Regions from separate parts of the Homo sapiens genome. Here regions 1, 2, 3, 4, 5 and 6 are each linked to region 7. Evidence: promoter capture Hi-C in 16 types of primary human blood cells and fetal thymus (Javierre and others, 2016). All regions are on one chromosome and are shown on one strand. The core of a region is centred on a gene start or on the middle of the fragment in contact, and the rest is flanking DNA. Distances in the headings are between cores, read along the strand shown. Region 1 has its middle 23 kb from the start of BFSP2-AS1. Region 2 has its middle 11 kb from the start of TOPBP1. Region 3 has its middle 5.2 kb from the start of BFSP2-AS1. Region 4 has its middle 15 kb from the start of CDV3. Region 5 overlaps TOPBP1 (DNA topoisomerase II binding protein 1). Region 6 overlaps TOPBP1 (DNA topoisomerase II binding protein 1). Region 7 holds the start of NPHP3-AS1 (NPHP3 antisense RNA 1).

The links. Contacts are between HindIII fragments. The CHiCAGO score rates a contact against its expected background, and 5 or more counts as called.
Region 1: a fragment that was not itself captured here is called in contact with the fragment with the promoter of NPHP3-AS1 in region 7 in 8 of 17 cell types (naive CD8 T cells, neutrophils, naive CD4 T cells and 5 more); the score reaches 8.8 in naive CD8 T cells.
Region 2: a contact is called between a fragment that was not itself captured here and the fragment with the promoter of NPHP3-AS1 in region 7, in 2 of 17 cell types (total CD4 T cells and fetal thymus). The highest score is 6.4, in total CD4 T cells.
Region 3: a fragment that was not itself captured here is called in contact with the fragment with the promoter of NPHP3-AS1 in region 7 in 8 of 17 cell types (naive CD8 T cells, total CD8 T cells, activated CD4 T cells and 5 more); the score reaches 13.6 in naive CD8 T cells.
Region 4: a contact is called between a fragment that was not itself captured here and the fragment with the promoter of NPHP3-AS1 in region 7, in 7 of 17 cell types (neutrophils, fetal thymus, monocytes and 4 more). The highest score is 9.0, in neutrophils.
Region 5: a fragment that was not itself captured here is called in contact with the fragment with the promoter of NPHP3-AS1 in region 7 in 8 of 17 cell types (total CD4 T cells, naive CD8 T cells, total B cells and 5 more); the score reaches 8.9 in total CD4 T cells.
Region 6: a fragment that was not itself captured here is called in contact with the fragment with the promoter of NPHP3-AS1 in region 7 in 8 of 17 cell types (M2 macrophages, M1 macrophages, total CD4 T cells and 5 more); the score reaches 11.4 in M2 macrophages.

Annotation. Positions count from the first base shown.
Region 1 is chr3:133,512,276-133,514,975 of GRCh38, reverse strand. No RefSeq gene overlaps it. Among named protein-coding and RNA genes, the nearest start is that of BFSP2-AS1, 23 kb to the right of the region's middle. The HindIII fragment of the contact is 7,656 bases long and covers 1-2,700 here.
Region 2 is chr3:133,671,248-133,673,947 of GRCh38, reverse strand. It overlaps a transcript of TF not described here. Among named protein-coding and RNA genes, the nearest start is that of TOPBP1, 11 kb to the right of the region's middle. The HindIII fragment of the contact is 3,186 bases long and covers 1-2,700 here.
Region 3 is chr3:133,494,984-133,497,683 of GRCh38, reverse strand. No RefSeq gene overlaps it. Among named protein-coding and RNA genes, the nearest start is that of BFSP2-AS1, 5.2 kb to the right of the region's middle. The HindIII fragment of the contact is 2,331 bases long and covers 187-2,517 here.
Region 4 is chr3:133,557,294-133,559,993 of GRCh38, reverse strand. No RefSeq gene overlaps it. Among named protein-coding and RNA genes, the nearest start is that of CDV3, 15 kb to the left of the region's middle. The HindIII fragment of the contact is 7,264 bases long and covers 1-2,700 here.
Region 5 is chr3:133,624,725-133,627,424 of GRCh38, reverse strand. All of the region lies in intron 16 of TOPBP1 (DNA topoisomerase II binding protein 1), which reads left to right. Among named protein-coding and RNA genes, the nearest start is that of TOPBP1, 36 kb to the left of the region's middle. The HindIII fragment of the contact is 6,507 bases long and covers 1-2,700 here.
Region 6 is chr3:133,606,879-133,609,578 of GRCh38, reverse strand. TOPBP1 (DNA topoisomerase II binding protein 1) reads left to right here. Exons shown (of 28, transcript NM_007027.4): 26 at 617-706; 27 at 883-1,044. Among named protein-coding and RNA genes, the nearest start is that of CDV3, 35 kb to the right of the region's middle. The HindIII fragment of the contact is 2,989 bases long and covers 1-2,700 here.
Region 7 is chr3:132,720,300-132,722,999 of GRCh38, reverse strand. It overlaps NPHP3-AS1 (NPHP3 antisense RNA 1), which reads right to left and starts at 1,250. Exons shown (of 11, transcript NR_002811.2): 1 at 621-1,250. It overlaps NPHP3 (nephrocystin 3), which reads left to right and starts at 591. Exons shown (of 27, transcript NM_153240.5): 1 at 591-1,037. The coding sequence starts at 645. It overlaps NPHP3-ACAD11 (NPHP3-ACAD11 readthrough (NMD candidate)), which reads left to right and starts at 541. Exons shown (of 45, transcript NR_037804.1): 1 at 541-1,037. RefSeq lists silencers at 75-584, 685-934. The HindIII fragment of the contact is 4,122 bases long and covers 1-2,700 here.

The DNA.
Region 1 (2,700 bases), core at 41-2,540, 790 kb before region 7:
GACCCGGAGCTGGACAGAATCTGGAAAGGAAGGCAGAGCTTTCCTCTGACTCCTCAAAGCTGTGACATCTATCTCTCCTCTGCCTGCGTGTCAGGTTCCTGCCTCTCCTGTAGAGCAGACTTCTAGACTTCCCTACCCCTGTGGAGGAAAGGCCCACTTGCAGATCTTGAGCTGGCCCGTCTATGAGTGAAGCAACCAGCAGAAACTGACTCATTCATTTTAGGATCAAATCCACATTCTTGGGAGAAAAAATTCGGACTGACCCTCTGGAGTCAGGTGTCCACCTGTTAATCATGCTTCTCCAGAGCACCAGTAGGATATAGGTACATAGGTAGGTAGGAGTTAGATAGAGATCTATGAGACGGGATTTATGAGGGAATTTGCTTATGTCATCACAAGGCTGAGTAGTCCCACGGTATGCCATCTGTGAGCTGGTGAACCAAAGAAACTGATAGCATGGCTTCGTCTAAAGTCAGAGGCTGAGAACAAGGAGACCCGATGGTGTAACTCTCAGTCAGAGGCTGAAGGCCTGAGAACCTGGGGAGCTGCTGGTATAAGGCCTGGAGTCCAAAGGCCAGAGAACCTAGAGTTCTGATGTCCAAGGGCAGGAGAAGATGGGTGTCCCACCTCCAGAAGAGAGAGAGCAAATTGTCCTTCCTCTGCCTTTTTTTTCTATTTGGGCCCTCAACCAACTGGTTGGTGCTTGCACATTGGGTGAGGGCTGATCTTCCTTACTCAGTCTACTGATTCAAGTGCCAGTCTTTTCCAGAAATATTCTTACAGACAGATCCAGAAATAATGCTTTATTGGCTATCTGGGTATCCCTTAATCCAGTCACATTAACACCTAAAACTAATCATCAAAAGTTCACACCTTGTCAACTTGGCACACTTACCCATCTTTTTTTTTTTTTGAGATGGAGTCTTGCTCTGTCACCTAGGGTGGAGTATAGTGCCATGATCTCAGCTTACTGCAACCTCTGCCTCCTGGGTTCAAGCTATTCTTCTGCCTCAGCCTTCTGAGTAGCTGGGACTACAGGCATGCACCACCACGACCGGCTAATTTTTGTATTTTTAGTAGAGACAGAGTTTCACCACACTGGCCAGGTGGTCTCAAACTCCTGCCTCGTGATCCGCCCCCCTTGGCCTCCCAATGTGCTGGGATTACAGGCGTGAGCCACCACGCCCAGCCACATTTACCCATCTTCTTAAAGCCATAGTTCCACCTAACATGATACAACTATCCTACACGCAATAAAAGTGCACCAGTTCCTTCCCCAGAAGAGGAGGTAAAGTCTTTGAGTGATGTTTACTCTTCTCCCGATATCCCATAAGTTAAATAATGTAAAATTAACGATACTTAACTGCTGATATAAAGTCAATATATTTTATGTTACCTGATACAATAATAAGAGAGGAAATAAAATAAATATGTCTGGGCCCCAGGCCACAGGAGACCCTATTGCCTGGTTCCAGGAAACCCTGGTATGTGCCCAAACCTCCTCCTTTTGTTAAACTAGCTCACATTTGACAAAAGAGGGAGGAAATACTCATGGCAATTACGGCTCTCATTTCTGTAACTGGTCATAGGGTCTTAGATGGTATTTATAACTATCATCTTCTACCATCCATCCTGTATTCTCTTTGCTTCTAGCAAGCAGTTCGGCTTGATTCTTTACCTAATGTGATGACTCAAAACTTATTCCTGAAGGCTCTGGGCCATTCATAGTCCTGGCTAGATTGGGTTATCATAGTTCCCCATTGACCTTAACCACAGGGCATGGTAATATTAAGAGATGGCCCAAGGAATTGCCTGTATTTCAGAAATACTTACCTCCTTACCTCCATTGTGGAGTAGTAGTCCAATTTCTCCTTGGTAGTCCAGATCAATCACTCCAGCCAACACCATAACTCCCCTGACTCAGAGGTGTGCGGAGCCCAAAGTGGCTAGGTGCGAGTCTCAACTTCCAGTTCAATGGAATCATTGTTGTGTCTGCTAGTGAAAGCATTCTTCCCTCTGGAAATAAGACCTCTATGGCAGCCGGGCATAAAGCCATGGGAAAAGGAAGCAACAATTGTGCTAGTAGGTCATTAGGGGTCATGGTGTGTGGTGCCACTCCCATTTCCACCCCTTGATTCCTGGACCTCTACATCCTGGCAATGGGAGAAACAGTACCGTGTATTAGATGCTGATTCAGAGCTTATACAGTCTTCTGGAGAATCTTGCCCCTACGAAGTATTATCACCTATCATACTATAACCGTGTCTTCAAAAGGCCATCCCATCATTCTATCAAGCCAGCTGCTTCAGGATGGTAGGGAACATGGAAAGACCAGTGAATTCCAGGAGCATGAGCCCATTGCTGTACTTTGGCTGTGAAGTGTGTTCCTTGGTCAAAAGCAATGCTGTATGGAATACCATGATGGTAGATAAGACATTCTTTAAGTCTACAGGTGGTAGTTACAGCAGAAGAATTATGTGCAGAGAAGGTAAAAATCCATATCCAGGCTGGGTGCCATGGCTCACACCTGTAATCCCAGCACTTTGGGAGGCTAAGGCAGGAGGATCACGTGAGGTCAGGAGTTTGAGACCAGCCTGGCCAACATGGCAAAACCCCATCTCTACTAAAAATAAAAAATTAGCCAGGCATGGTGGTGTATGTCTGTAATCCTAGCTACTTGGGAGGCTGAGGCATGAGAAT
Region 2 (2,700 bases), core at 110-2,609, 950 kb before region 7:
GAACCCAGAGAGGGCGGCCTCTCCTCGCCCCTGCAGCCCGATCCTGCTCAGGTCTGTGACTTCTGCCTGGGGAAAATCTGAATTTAAATACAATTTTAAGAACTTTTAATTAAAGTATAATAAATATGCATAGAACGTCACATGTTCTAAATAAATGTACGGCTTAATTATCATCAAATGAACACACCCACATAACCAGCACCCACATCAAGAAACAAAACGTTAACAAACAAAGCTGGCACAACCCCCTCCCACAAAGGTACCCATTATCTTGACTTCTAACACATAGACTAATTCTGCTGATTTTTGAGCTTTATGCAGATGGAATCATACCATACGTACAATTCTGTGTTTGACCTCTTTCACTGGAGATGCTATGTGTGAGATTCACCTATGTTGTTTATAGTTGCCCTTTATTCATTATCAGCGTTGCACATTCTACACTGTGTATGCAGCACATTTTATCTTTCCTCTTGATCGTTGTAGTCTTCAGTGGGCTCTTAAGGATAGTGCTGCTGTGGATATAATTTTAACTGTATTTTCTATCTGTTGCTGGTATCTGAAAAAAACAATTGGTTTTCGTATATTGACCTTGAATCCAGTGATCTTGCTGAGTTGTCTTATTAGTTGGAATTGCTTCCTTCCTATGCACATCCTTATATCTTATATGAATAAGGTCAGTTTTGTTTTTTCCTTTCAGATCCTTAGGAATCTCTTTCCTCTTGACTTACTGCACTGGCTAGAACTCACATTACATTCTACTACATGTCTTTTCGTGCACTTAGGGATGCATCACTGCAGGGTTTCCCCATACATCATGAAGTAGATGTACGTTCAGCTTTAATAGTTACTGCCGAACTATTAATACAAAATTGAGTAGAAGGGTGATAGGGAAAGTTTTCAATAATTCTCCATTATGCAAAATTTTTGCTGGTGTTTTGTTTTGTTTTAAATATTATTAACCATATTAAGGAACTTTCCTTCCTTCCTGGGTTGCCTAAATTTTTTAAAAATCATGAATGGGTATTGCATTTTGTCAAGTATTTTTTCTGCACCTAAGATACTCATATGATTCCCTTTTCTTTTATATTAATGTGGTAAACTTCTCTTATTCTCTTTTTTCTTTCTTTTTCTTTCTCTTTCTCTCTTCTTTCCTTTTTCTGTCCCCCTCCCCTTCCCTCCCCTCCCCTTCCTTTCCCTCCCCTTCCCCTCCCTTCCCTCTTGCTTGGGTCCTGCTCTATTGCCCAGGCTGGAGTGCAGCTGTGGGATCATAGTTCAGTGAAGGCTCCACCTCCTAGGCTCAAGTGATCCTCCCTCCTCAGCCTCCCAAGTAGCTGGGGCTACAGCAGTGCACCACCACGCTGGACTCCTTTAATTGATTTTTAAATGTTGAACTACTCTTACATTCCTGGAATAAACCCCACTTGGCTATTACGTATAACATTTTTTTACATATTGCTGAACTTGATTACTTTTTTTTTTTTTTTTAGGATTTTTTGCATTTGTGTTCGTGAGAGAAATCATTCTGCAGGTTTCTTTATCTTAATGTCACTAAAAGTTTGGTTGCAAGGTTTTAATTGCTCATAAAATTAATTGGAATATGTTACTTCTTTTCTTATTCTCTGGAAGATACTGTGTAAGAATAGCATTCTTTCTTTCTTAAATGTTCGGAAGGCCTCACCAGTGAAGCCACCTGTGTTTAGAGTTTTACTTGTGGAAAAGTTTTTGATAACAGATTGAGTTTCTTAAATAGCTAGAGAAATATCCAGATTTTATGATCCTTCAAGTTTCAATATTGGTAAGTTTTTTGTTAAAGAAATTTGTCCATTTTATCTAATTTTCAAATTTATTGATATAAAATCATTCATGATCTTATCCTTTGACATTTTTAGTATATGGTATTTAGTATTTTCATTGCTGATATTAGTGATTTATGTTTACTACTTTCCTTGATTAGTATTGCCAGGATTTTACCTATTTCATTAATCTTTTCAGAGAATCAACCTTGGCTTTGCTGTTTTTCTCTATTGTACATTCATTTATTGTTTCATTGATTTCTGCTCTGTTGACTTTGAATTTTGGTCTTTCTCTAGCTTCTTTATTCTTTCTTTCCTTCTTCTCCTTTTTCTTCTTCTTCTTTTTTTTTTTTTTTCTTTTGACAGAGTCTCACTCTATCGCCCAGGCTGGAGTGAAGTGGCAAGATTGCGGCTCATTGTAACCTCCGCCTCCTGGGTTCAAGTGATTCTCCTGGCTCAGCCTCCTGAGTAGCTGGGATTACAGGCATTAGACAGAGCACCCGGGTAATTTTTATTTATTTTTATTTTTTAGTGGAGATGGAGTTTCACCATATTGTTCAGGCCAGTCTCGAACTCCTGGCCTCAAGTGATCTGCCTGCCTTGGCCTCCCAAAGTGCTGAGATTACAGCTGTGAGCCACCATGCCTGGCCTCTCTTGCCTTTTTTTTTCTTTTAAGGCAGTTAAGGTCACTGATTTTTCAGCCTCTCTTCTCTATTACATGTGATAAAGGCTATAAATTTGCCTATAAGTATTCCTTTTCTTGATATATTATAACTTCATGGTTATTCAGTTCAAAATATATTCTAATTTTATTGTGATTTCTTATTCAACTCATGGTTTATTGAGAAATGTATTGCTTGATTATCCAGGTGGGCCAATATCCTCACAAGGGTTCTTTAAATGT
Region 3 (2,700 bases), core at 103-2,602, 770 kb before region 7:
GAAAAATTGATTAAGAATGATGCTAATCAGCCAGGCACGGCTGATTATTGTACTTTTAGTAGAGATGGGGTTTCACCAGGTTGGCCGGGCTGGTCTTGAATTCCTGACCTCAAGTGATCTGCCCACCTCAGCCTCCCAAAGTGCTGAGATTACAGGTGTGAGCCACCGTGCCCAGACTATAAAGCTTGATAAAGTAGAAATGATATGAGCAACAAACAAGAGTGAAAGAGAAGGGAAAAGGAAGAAATATACCTATGCCAATAATTACATGTTTTATAGTATAGAGAGAATTGATACTATGTAAAAATGAAACATGCACTTAAAAGTAATGTATAACATTCCAACCTCTTAACAGCTTTCATTTTTTTAAACCTATAGAAACAGAAGAATCCTATAACAACGAATATTTCCTAAGGTGAAAAAAATGTGTTAAAAGTCTAACATTTCTTTCAATTTAATTTCATTTTTTCTTGTGTTAAGTTCAAGTGAAATTAAACTAAAAACTCAGTTTTCTTAAAAAGCAGCATAAGTTGGGTATGGTGGCTCACTTCCATAATCTCAGAACTTTGGGAGGCTGAGGTGGAAGGATTGTTTGAGCCCAGGACTTCAAGACTAGCCTGGGCAACATAGTAAGACTCCGTCTCTATTTAAAATTTAAGGCCTGGTGTGGTGGTTCAAACCTGTAACCCCAGCACTTTGTGGGGCCGAGGCGGGTGGATCGCTTAAACACAGGAGTTTGAGACCAGCCTGGGCAACATGGTGAAACCCCACCTCTACAAAAAAAAAAAAAAAATTAGCCTGGTGTGGTGGTACATACCTGTAGTCCCTACTTGAGAATCTGAGATGGGAGGGCTAATTGATTGAGCTGGGGAGGTCAAGGCTGCAGTGAGCTGAAATTGCACCGCTGCACCCGCTGCACTCCAGCCTGGGTGACAGAGCAAGACCCTGTCTCAGAAAAAAAAAAAAAAACAAAATCAAAAACAACAACAACAAAAGAACAAAAACAGCATGTATAGCATGAACCTAATCTTTTATACAGTTATAAGAAAATTAGGAAATAAACATTGATACAATATTATTATCTAACTTACAGACTTTATTTAAATTCCATCAGTTGTCCAAAATGTGTCCTTTGTAACAAAAGAAAACAATTTTCTGGTCCAGGATACAATCCAGGTTCATGGGTTGCATTTAGTTGTCAGGTTTCTTTAGTTTTCTTTAATCTGCACAGTTCCTCAGTCTTCCCTTGTCTTTTATAAACTTGATGTTTTTTGGGTTGTACAGGCCAATGATTTTGTAGACTGTGCCTCCATTTGAGCTTGTCTGATGTTTTCTCAGGATTAGATTTGGATTACGCATTTTTGGTAAAAATATCATAGGAGTGATATTTTTTCCTCAATTCATCATCAGAACTGGCCTGTGGTGATGCTGCAGGGAGGGGCAGGGCAATAAATACACTGACCTCACTCTCTTTCGTCCCTCATTCTCCTGCTGGTGCTCCCTATTGCTGGAATACACTGGTGTTCAGCAGGAGGAGCACCCATTCACATAGCCCAGGTACAGAGTAGGTCCTGAAGCCAAGTGCTCAGTCCATGAGGTTTCAGGAGGAAGTCAGGAGTTGCTTTTTAGTGGAGACTAACTGACAACAGTGGTGGACATAGCCTTTCTCAAATATCCTATGACTGTTATTCTCCTACTGTGGCGTGCCAAGGGTTCTATATGTTACCTTTGTCTGCAACAGATACTTCCACAATTATTGGGCATGCTGGTCATAGGTGCAGTGGCAGGCAGCTGGCTCCACACCTCAGCTTGCTACAGATGCCTTTTTGCTCTAGGCCCTGCTCAAAACTTGCAGCCCCTCCATGTGTTCATGCTGATATAAACACACACACACCACACACACACACACACACACACACACACACACACACACAATAGGGAAGAAAGGAACATTCTTTCTTTCTTTCTTTCTTTTTTTTTGAGATGGAGTTTCGCTCTTGTTGCCTAGGCTGGAGTGCAATGGTGCAATATTGGCTCACCACAACCTCCGCCTCCCAGGTTCAAGCAATTCTCCTGCCTCAGCCTCCCGAGTAGCTGGGATTACAGGCATGTGCCACCACGCCCAGCTAATTTTGTATTTTTAGTAGAGACAGCGTTTCTCTATGTTGATCAAGCTGGTCTTGAACTCCCGACCTCAGGTGATCCTCCTGCCTTGGCCTCTCAAAGTGCTGGGATTACAGGCGCGAGCCACCGTGCCCGGCCAGAACATTTTTTCTTATAGAAGAAAGCCAACTAAAAAATGTAGAAGAAATGATGGAATTTGAAAATCACCATTTGGCAACCATAATAAGTAATAATTGACGTGGGCAGGAATCATCAATTGATGCTAAAACTAAAACTTCTGGGACAGAAAGTTTGAGGAATAACAATATTTACTCAAAATAGACTAAAAATATTTTTCCACAAGATACTTACTAATTACAAATGGAAAAACAGTAACTTTACAGTGGAGAAGCTTGGCACACGCCACCTGAACCCAGTAAACAAAATTAATATCACCAGGAGAGGGACATATTGATATCACATGCCTCCTGGTGAGTTTTATGGTATTCCAACTGAAAGTGTGCAACTTGAATCTAACCTGAGGAAATACCAGAACTCAAGTTGAGGAGTATTTTGTAAAATAACTGCCCTGTTGAG
Region 4 (2,700 bases), core at 3-2,502, 840 kb before region 7:
CTTCCCCAGTGAATGATGTACAGCAGAGCATTTTTAGAATCTTAACATTTTCCTGCTAAAAATCTTACAGCACTGAGAAGTGAAGGGATTTACCCACAGTTGCTCACCAGTTAGAGGCGGAGCAGGACAAGAGTCCAGCCCTGTGCCTGGCTCATGCAGGGATAAGTTTTATTTTTATTTATTTATTTATTGAGACAGAGTTTCACTCTTGTTGTCCAGGCTGGAGTGCAATGGCGCGATCTCGGCTCACTGCAACCTCCGCCTCCTGGGTTCAAGTGATTCTCCTGCCTCCGGCTCCCGAGTAGCTGGGATTACAGGCATGCACCACCATGCCCAGCTAATTTTTGTATTTTCAGTAGAGTCAGGGTTTCACTATGTTGGCCAGGCTGGTCTCAAACTCCTAACCTCAGGTGATCTGCCCACCTTGACCTCCCAAAGTGCTGGGATTACAGGCATGAGCCATCACACCCAGCCAAGGATAAGTTTTATTATCTCTATCTTTTGAGATTTTAAATACATAAGTAGTTTAGAGTCTCCCACAGTTTGGGTTGAATTCATTAGAGACACCACCAGGGCCTGGAATTTTAAACTACAAATTCAACTGGATACATATAGGACTATTCAGGTTATCTATTTCTTCTTGAGTGAATTTTGGTAGTTTGTGTCTTTCAAATAATTGATCCATTTCATTTAAGCTGCCAAATTTTTGGGTTGCAGTTGTTCGTAGCATACCCTTATTTCTCATAGTTTTGTAGTGCTTAAGCTGTGATTTTAACCCCATTCTCTCTGCCTCCAAGTTCTTTACTTTTAATCACTTTGTTCTATGGCAGCTGACTCCCCTTAGCTCACTGGAAGGGGAGATGATAGTTACCCTTTTCACAGATGAGAAAGCTGAGGATCAGAGAGGATATACATCTAGTTAGAGGAAGGGTCAAGATTTGAACCTAGGCCTGCTGTGACTGCAGAGTCAGTTTCTTCTTTTCATCATGTACTATTGCCCAACCCTTCCACCCTTCACTCGTCTCAATATCTCTGCCTTGCCTCAGACAAGGAAGCTAAATCTCTGGGGGTTGGACCACCATGGGCGTTTTGGGAAGCTCCCCGGGTGATTCTAACACGCGGTCAAGGTTGAGGTGCATTGTTGGGCCTGCTCAGTCAGTGGGGTCTGGCACAGCAGGCATACTGCAGTCAGCTCCTGAAGGATGAGTTGAGTTTGCCCAGCCACATGCCAAGTGTTACATGGGAGGCAGAGATGGCATAGGACTCAACTGGGTGGTTCTGCTCCCTGCAGTGTTGTCTGGGGTCATTTATGTGATGACATTCAAGTGGGAGCCTGTCTAGGGTGAGAATGACCAAGATAGGTTTCCTAACTTGTCTAGTGACTTAACTGGGGTGTCTGAAACAGCTGAGGGATGGCTAGTTACCTTCCTCTCTATGTGGTCTCTCATCATTTAGTAGTCAGACCTGAGCTTTCTTACAAGACAACTGGATCCTAAGAGGGCAAGAGTGAAAGCTGTGAGACCTCTTATGGCCCAGGCCTGGAACTGGCACAGTGTTACTTAGACTGCATTCCATTGGCATAACATGCCATGAGACCAGCCCCAGTTTGTCTTGCCAGACCCCTATTAACTCCAATAGGGATGGTATCATGTCCGAGAGGCCGAAGGAAAGCAAACAAGACACAGGATGTATTGGGTGAACTTAAATACAGCGATGCTCCAGTGGTGGCAGGCTGGATGGGAAAACAACTACCGTTTGTAAAAAGCATGCAGTTTATATAGCATTTGGGCACGGTGGCTGTAATCCTAGCACCTTTGGAGGCCAAGGCAGGTAGATAGCTTGCTCTATTTTTTTTTTAATTAAAAAAATATATATATACACACACACAGAGCACATTTATTTTTGAGATGGAGTCTCACTCTGTTGCCCAGGCTGGAGTGCAGTGGCATGATCTTGGCTTACTGCAACCTCTGCCTCCCGGGTTCAAGTGATTTTCCTGCCTCAGTCTCTCGAGTAGATGGGATTACTGGTGCGCACCACCACGCTCAGCTATTTTTGTATTTTTAGTACAGACGAGGTTTCACCATGTTGGCCAGGCTGGTCACAAACTCCTAACCTCAGGTGATCTGCCCGCCTCGGCCTCCCTAAGTGCTGGGATTACAGGTGTGAGCCATGGCGCCCAGCCTACACATAGCATTTTTATTTAGCAGCCTCCACCTAGCAACCTTCTTTTAACCCAAAACAAAGGGCGTTCATCCCCTGTATAGCCTGTGTTCCAAGGAATGGGCCAAGGATTCAAATGTCCTTCATTGATAATGAGTGAGTCTGTGGGTTGGCCACTCCCGGATTTCTTAGCTCGGAACGCCAAATGCACATTCTTCTTAGACCATAGGGTCATTCTCAGCATATGCTTAAGTTAAGTTATTGGTGTCAGGTGTGTCTGCCATACAAAGTTCAAAAAGAAGAGAAATAAACTTCACCTCTAGTTTTTTGGGCTTTTTTTCTTTTCTTTTTATTATTATTATACTTTAAGTTTTAGGGTACATGTACACAATGTGCAGGTTAGTTACATATGTGTACATGTGCCATGCTGGTGTGCTGCACCCATTAACTTGTCATTTAGCATTAGGTATATCTCCTAATGCTATCCCTCCCCACTCCCCCCACCCCACAACAGTCCCCAGAGTGTGATGTTCCCCT
Region 5 (2,700 bases), core at 101-2,600, 900 kb before region 7:
TATTATCTAATTACCTATTATGTTACCTATTGCCAGTTGCTGAGCATTATCTCGTTTCATTCTCATAGTAGCCCTACAAGGGGTGTGTGTATATTTTTTTTTCCTCAAAATTGAATGTTTCCTTGTTTATTCTGTTTTGATGTAGACATGATATAAGACTTTCAAGGGAACATATAGGATGTATGTTTTTATATGATTTTAAATGCCAGTCCTCTCAGTATAAAAAATAGAATTTATTACTGAAATTCCTAAACAGAATTTAACCATTGCATTGCATTAAAGTTTATATTAAATCTTTTCCTGAAATGGATTGGTAATTGATAAAGGGAAGAGCCTTATAATATGCAGAGGTTAGATATTTATATATGCATAGAGTAAAGCAGTTCTCAAGTGAAGTTGTTCCAAATGTTCCCTTCCATCATCTAGGACCAGACTGTCCCAAAGAGATCATCGGATACTGTCTTCTGTCTTCAGACAGTTAAACATGTAGGCCCGATCTTTGCAACAAATCAGATGCAGCATCTTCATTTTATTACAAATATTTGTGTAACATTCCCTCTATTAAAATGAATATAAATATAACCTACCTACTTTTATAATTTAAAAAAGTAGCAGACAGTATAGCACTCTGTGATGCATAGGAGAAATAGAAGGTGCATAATATAGAAAAGATATATGTTCAGTTATGTATAATGCCTAAGGCTGACTACACTAGAAAACAATGGAGTATTAATACGTTTGTATACCTATGTAAAGGCACCACAAATCCAACAGTCCCAAGGCTGAGACCGATCTGGGGACTCAGATACCATGAGTAGCAGTGGTCTTCCATCAATTTATACAGTAGTCACATTTTTGTAATATTAGTGTATATTAAAACTGCAAAAAAATAACTTGTTTATATGTCGAACAGGTTCTAGACTCAACTAATTATAAACAACTTTTTTTTACATACGTGAATTTGTCGGGACATTAGAATATCATGCAAGATATGACATAATTATATGTATGACTGTTCCCCAGAATTTCCAGCATCCTGTACCTTACCCACTGCATGCTAGTAGCACCCTCCAACATACAAACACACATTGTAACAACCAAAATCACCCTCACAAATGTCCAAAATAACCCCTGAAGTAACACTTTTGCTGAAACCGCTGATCTAGACCAAGGGTGTATGGGCTGGTTCATCTGTTTTTGTAAGTAAAGTTTTATTGGAATACAGCAATGCCTTTTCACTTACAAATTGCCTATGACTGCTTTCACATACAAGACAAAAGTTGAGCAGTTGCAAAAGAGATTGTTTGGCCTGCAAAGTCTAAAATATTTACTATCTGGCCTTTTAAGAAAAAATTTGCCAAACCCTGATGTAAACCATCTACAACCACTGACAGTCTGTTCTTGAATGGCCTCTGAAGACTGAAACTCATGGTTTCCATATTGTCATAGTGGAGTTGACTGGTAAACCAAATTGATTCAGGCAAAAATACTCCTCTGTTTTTCTGAATTATCTTGATAATATACCACTACGCAGAAAGGGAGACAGTTATTCTGAGAACTAACAAATTAGGCAAGGTGTATTTTTATTGTTATGTTTTAGGATACATGGTCAGTAGGAAATAGAGATTTTTATAATATAACTTAGGAGGCAATAGTACTTCTTACTTCTTTTTCTTAATTCTTTTTTTTTTTTGAGAGGGAGTTTTGCTCTTGTTGCCCAGGCTGGAGTGCAGTGACATAATCTCGACTCACCACAACCTCCACCTCCTGGGTTTAAGCGATTCTCCTGCCTCAGCCTCCTGAGTAGCTGGTATTACAGGCATGCGCCACCACACCCGGCTAATTTTGTATTTTTAGAAGAGATGTGGTTTCTCCATGTTGGTCGACTGGTCTGAAACTCCCGACCTCAGGTGATCCACCTGCCTTGGCCTCCCAAAGTACTGGAATTACAGGCATGAGCCACTGCCACTGCACCCAGCTTCTTAATTCATTTGTCTATTTAAAAAGCTCAGAGATATTCCTTACTTAGAAAATGGAAAATATTAAGTGTCCCTAAGGATAAAATTCTGTTTATTTTGGTGATTGTATTTAGAAATATAATTTTTACCTACCCTTTGGTTTTTACTTGATGTTTCCCAGGTCAAGAGAATATTGAATAGCGGCCGGGCACGGTGGCTCATGCGTGTAATCCCAGCACTTTGGGAGCGCAAGGCGGGTGGATCACTTGAAGTCAGGAGTTCGAGACCACTGCCCAATATGGTGAAAACCCATCTCTACTAGAAATACAAAAATTAGCTGGGTGTGGTGGCGTACGCCTATAATCCCAGCTGCTCAGGAGGCTGAGATAGGAGAATTGCTTGAACCCGGGAGGTGGAGATTGCAGTGAACCAAGATTGTGCCACTGCATTCCAGCCTGGGTGACAGAGTGAGACTCTGTCTCAAAAAAAGAGAGAATATTGAATAGGAAGAATTGGGAGATCATAGCATAATATAATAGTTAAGAGCATGGCTTTTGAAGTCAAAGTTATCTCTATCATTTACTCATTGAGTATCCTTGAACAGGGTACTGAACCATGTCCCTTAGTTCTTTTATCTTTAAGATTAATGTAATAATACCAGTGTTAGGATTGTTGTGAGGAATGGATGAGATAATGATGTGTAAAATATATATAGTCTGTTTTGGGGCATACAATGAATAGT
Region 6 (2,700 bases), core at 91-2,590, 890 kb before region 7:
TCACCTCCCACGAGGTCCCTCCCCCAACACTTGGAGATTATCATTCGGATTACAATTCAAGATGAGATTTTGGGTGGGGACACAGCCAAACCATTATCAGAACCCCTGAGTTAAATAGTCTTTCATGTTGTATTCTAAGTTCTCTGATATCTCCAAATCCTTATTAGCCATGATACCCTCTCTTTTAGAGTAATTCCACTGGCTTTTGTTAGTTGTTATTCCCTTCCTAAATATTTTGTTTCCAGTTTGTAAACATTTTTAAGAGAAGTGAAACGCAGGCTTCATCTAACCTAAGGAGCTCTGCTTGAAGCTCTTCCCTTGATTAATCAAAAGAAAAAAATACTAGAAAAGACTAAACATCAATCACACTGCTTTGTTTTAATGTTACCTAATCATTAATGGTTTTTCATTCCTCACGTATTTCTTGATGGCCTACTATGTGCCAGATACCATGGATTCACGTTTCAGTGTTCTGGCCAGAGATAATTATACTGTGGCAAAAGTAAAGTTTATAAGATTTATTGACAAAACTAAGTCTACAGATAAAATCATGCATTATCTGTATTATTTTGTTATTTTCCAAATGATTTCACCACTGATTGTTTTTTATTTGTAGGGAGCATTTAGTGGGTGGAAGGTTATTTTACATGTGGATCAGTCTCGAGAAGCAGGCTTCAAACGCCTTCTTCAGTCAGGAGGAGCAAAGGTTTGTATCAAATTAATTTACTGACCTTTTTACATGAATAATCATCTAACCAAGATTGCTATGATGAGTTCTTCATTTTCTCTACTTTTTGAAATGGTAATCCTTAAGTACACATTATACAGCTGAACTACTTTGGAATACTGGTAGATTGTGATACTACCTTGTTTTTTCATTAGGTGCTACCTGGTCATTCTGTACCTTTATTTAAAGAGGCCACACATCTTTTTTCTGACTTGAATAAACTGAAACCAGATGACTCAGGAGTTAATATAGCAGAAGCTGCTGCCCAGAACGTGTACTGCTTGAGAACAGAATACATTGCTGATTATCTCATGCAGGTTTGTGAGATTCTATCCTTGACCTCCTCATTACCAGAGATACGTTTATGTGCATAGATAAGTAACTGCACAACAAAACCTTCAGCTCATGATTAGTAGAAGATTAGTCTCCTGTTATTCTCTTCTATTCCAGCCCTTTCAGTTTTATTCTATTTGTGTTTTTTATTATAATGAACATATTATGTAAACATTTAGCTTGGAAGTTAAATATGAGAAGAGTATAAAAATCTAGGTACCTCTAAAGGCTTTAAAAATACCCTTTAAAATGTTGGAATATAAAGCAGAAATCGATTCCAGGAGTCCAAGGAGAAACATTTATCCAAAGGTCCTTTAGTTTTCTTGACTGTTTGCTTTCATGTACATTAAATACCTATGTTAGACACTGTGGTAAATTTAAGCATTTGCTATATGGTGGGCTTACTACTCTCATATTCAGAATTGGCCTGTGTTGTGTAATTTGAATGGGGTAAGAAAAATCTTCTGACACCAGAGTGCCCAAAAGGCCATCAGGAGTCAGCAGGCATGACACATAATCATAAGGATTAGATTTCATAATCATAATCTATGAAGGATTTCAACTGGGATGATACAGAAATAAGGGGAGGCCAACACTCAAAGTCAGCTTTGTGATTTTGCTGCTGTGCTTGGAGATTGCTCAGGATTTAATAGAATGCCTAAAACACAAATGTGAAGCCGTTATAGAGCAGAGGGCATACTGATTAGTATCCACGATTTTATCTAAGGTTTTCACTCAACGTGATGTTTTTGACATTCATTCAAGTTGTAGTGTATACCAGTAGTTCATTCCTTTTTATTGCTGAGTAGTATTTCTTTGTCTGAATATACCATAGTTGATTCATTTTCCTATTGATGGACCCTTGGACTCCTGGAATCAGAAATGTTCCAATAAGCACTTCCCTTGAGCATCACATAAGTGCTCGAAAGTTTAGGATTTTGTACCATTTCTAACTTTTGGATTTGAGATGCTCAATCTGTACATTATTGGTGGGAAGTGTAAAATGGTAAAAATCCCTTTGACAAAAGGCCTGGCAGCTTCTTAAAAAACGAAATATTTACTTATTCTATTACACAGCAATTCTGTCCTATTTACCCAGGAAAAATGAAAAAATATGTCCATAAAAAAGCCTGTATATTTTTAGTAGCTGTTTGTCATCTTGGTTATCATTAGTAAAGCTACTAAAAATATACAGGGATTTTTACCATTTTACACTTTCCACCAATAATATACAGATTGAGCATCCCAAATCCAAAAGTTAGAAATGGTACAAAATCGTAAACATTTCTGATTTCTGGGTTTCGGTTGCTCAACCAGTAAATATAAATATTCCAAAATCTGAAATACTTCTGATTCTAAGCACTTCAGATAAGGGATACTCAATCTGTGTAAGCCTTCTGGTTATTCCATATTTTGCCAACATTTAGTGTTGGCAGTCATTTGATTTTTAGCCATGCGGTAGGTTTATAGTGGGAGCACATTGTAATTTGTACAGAGTGTTTGTAATTTGTATTTCCCTGATGACTAATGACATCGAGCACTTTTTCTTTCATGGTCTCTTTGTTTGTTTGTTTGTTTGTTGGTGTGTGTGTGTGTATTTAATATTTTTTTCTAAAAAGTTATTGTTTTAGCTTTTATGT
Region 7 (2,700 bases), core at 1-2,500:
GGTCCACTGCTGGTCCTGCACAGTCGCCACTCCCCCCATCCTTCCTGCTAGCCCCGCCCTTCTTGCTAGCCCGCCTGGCCCTGTGTGCTTTCTCGACCCACCCCCGTTTGCCCTGCCCCGCCCACATGCCCCGCCCCACTTGCCCGGCCCCTCTTGTTGTCCCGCCTAGCCCTGCTGCCCCGCCCCGTCCCCCTCGCCCATCCCCCCAGTTCCGCTGCCCCGTCCCGTTCCGCTGCCCCGCCCCTCCAGTTGCCCCACCCCCTTCCGCTCTCCCTCCCCGCCCCGTTCCGCTGCCTCGCCTCGTCCGGCTCTCCGGCCCCGCCCCGCCCCGTTCCGCTGCCCCGCCCCGTCCTGCTCCCCCGCCCCGTCCTGCACCCCCGCCCCGCCCAGTTCTGCTGCCCCGCCCCTCCTGTTTCCCCGCCCCATCCCGCTCCCCCGCCTCGCCCCGTTCCGCTGCTCCGCCCCGTCCCGCTGCTCCGCCCAGTCCTGCTCTCCGGCCCCGCTCCATCCCGCTGGCCCGCCCCGTCCCGTTCCGTTCCTCTGCCCCGCCCCGTCCCGTTCCGTTCCTCTGCCCCACCCCGTCCCGTTCCGTTCCGCTGCCCAGTCCTGCTGGTACTCACTAGGTAGTAGCGGCAACGGACGCCATGGGGACCGCCTCGTCGCTCGTGAGCCCCGCGGGCGGGGAAGTGATCGAGGACACGTACGGGGCGGGCGGCGGCGAGGCCTGCGAGATCCCGGTGGAGGTGAAGCCCAAGGCCCGCCTGCTGCGCAACTCGTTCCGCCGAGGCGCGGGGGCGGCAGCAGGGGCCGGGCCCGGGTCGCTGCCCCGCGGGGTGGGCGCGGGCGGGCTGCTGGGGGCCAGCTTCAAGTCCACTGGCTCGTCGGTGCCAGAGCTGGAGTACGCGGCGGCCGAGTACGAGCGGCTCAGGAAGGAGTACGAGATCTTTCGCGTCAGCAAGAACCAGGAGTTGTTGTCCATGGGCCGCCGCGAGGCCAAGCTGGACACGGAGAACAAGCGGCTGCGGGCCGAACTGCAGGTAACGCCGGGCTGGGCCGCGACGCCGGGAGACCCTTGGGAAGCACGGCCGTCCTGCTCCCTCTCCAAACCAAGCGGCTTTGAAAGTTCGGCGGAAACTGCCCATTTTAATTTGAGAGGCCATATTCTCTTCGAGTCTGAAATGATTCCTTAACCCTCCCCTTTTTCTGTCTCTTTTTTTGGAGACAGGGTCTCGCTGCGGTGGCACGATCGCGGCTCACTGCAACCTGGAACTCCTGGGCTCAATGATCCTCCCGCCTCGGCCTCCTAAAGTTCTGGGATTACAGGAGTGAGCCACCGCGCCTGGTCCCCGCTTTTCTATTTCTGGTTTATTCATTGAGGCACCTAGAAGAAATTAGCCGGAAAGTGTCCTGAGGAGGCAAATGCCAATCTCCAGCTCCACTGCCGCCCCCGCGCCCACCCCCTCAGAAGGCTGGTGACATCTGTTGAAGCAACTCAGCAAACTCTTCCTAGGAGTTTCACCCCCCTCCCCACCATAAAAATTTTAAGTGGGTCTCCAAAGTGGGGCTCAAGTGTCGGTTTCTTTGTAAAGTTTCATCGCTCTTGCATTTTAATGGTCTTGACATGAAAATTTCTGGAAGCCTCCTGATCTCACCATGGTTGAAAACCTTCTCTAGATGTAGTCAAATTTCCCTAGTCCATTTGATTAATTTACGCTAAAAGCAATTATTGCATGCCCTCCATGTAGCAGGTCCATTATAATTCAATAAAATAGTATGTAAAGCAGCCGGGCGTGGTGGCTCACGCCTGTAATCCCAACACTTTTCGAGGCCTAGGCGGACGGATCACCTGAGGTCAGGAGTTCGAGATCAGCCTGGCCAACATGGTGAAACCCCGTCTCTACTAAAAATACAAAAATTAGCCGGGCATGGTGGCACGCGCCTGTAATCCCAGCTACTCAGGAGGCTGAGGCAAGAGAATTGCTTGAACCCGGGAGGCGGAGGTTGCAGTGAGCCGAGATTGCACCATTGCACTCCAGCTTGGGTGACAGAGCGAGACTCCGTATCAAAAAAAAAAAAATAGTATAAAGCAAGAGGTTGCTTTTCTGTGAACGAATCTCTAAAACTTTTTGCCCTCAGTTTGGGGCCCCTCTGGTCGTTGTTGTGTCGTTTGTGTACTCTTTACTGTGGGAGAGACTTATAGGCAGCCTAAGAGTTCCCGGAGTCGTTACAGTCGGGGTGAAATAAATACCTCAGACTGATTTTTCTAAAAGAAAAAAAGCCTCCTGTCTTCAAGACTAGACATTCTTCTAGTCAGGTTTTGTTGTTGTTGTTGTTGTTGTTTTTGTTTTTAAACTCCCTCATTAGCTGTTGTGTAATTATTGTCGTTGTCTGGGAAGAAGTCCGTGTAGCAGTTTATCTGTTGTCTTATCAGTTTTCCTACTGGGCAACCTTAATGCACTTGCATGTATAAAATGGACTAGTGCATTTCAAATATCTGATTCAATGTATCCAAGCCACTGCCCAACAGACACCGCACGTTGGAAACAACTGTGAGGTGGGGGTAGAAAAGGCCAAACCAAACAGGGCGGAGTGCAATAAGGGTTGGCAAGTGTCACAGTCACTCATGTCACCAATCCTGATTCCCTGTGAAACATACTGGTTCCTTTCTCACATATCGAGGCATGAAAAAACTTATCCATA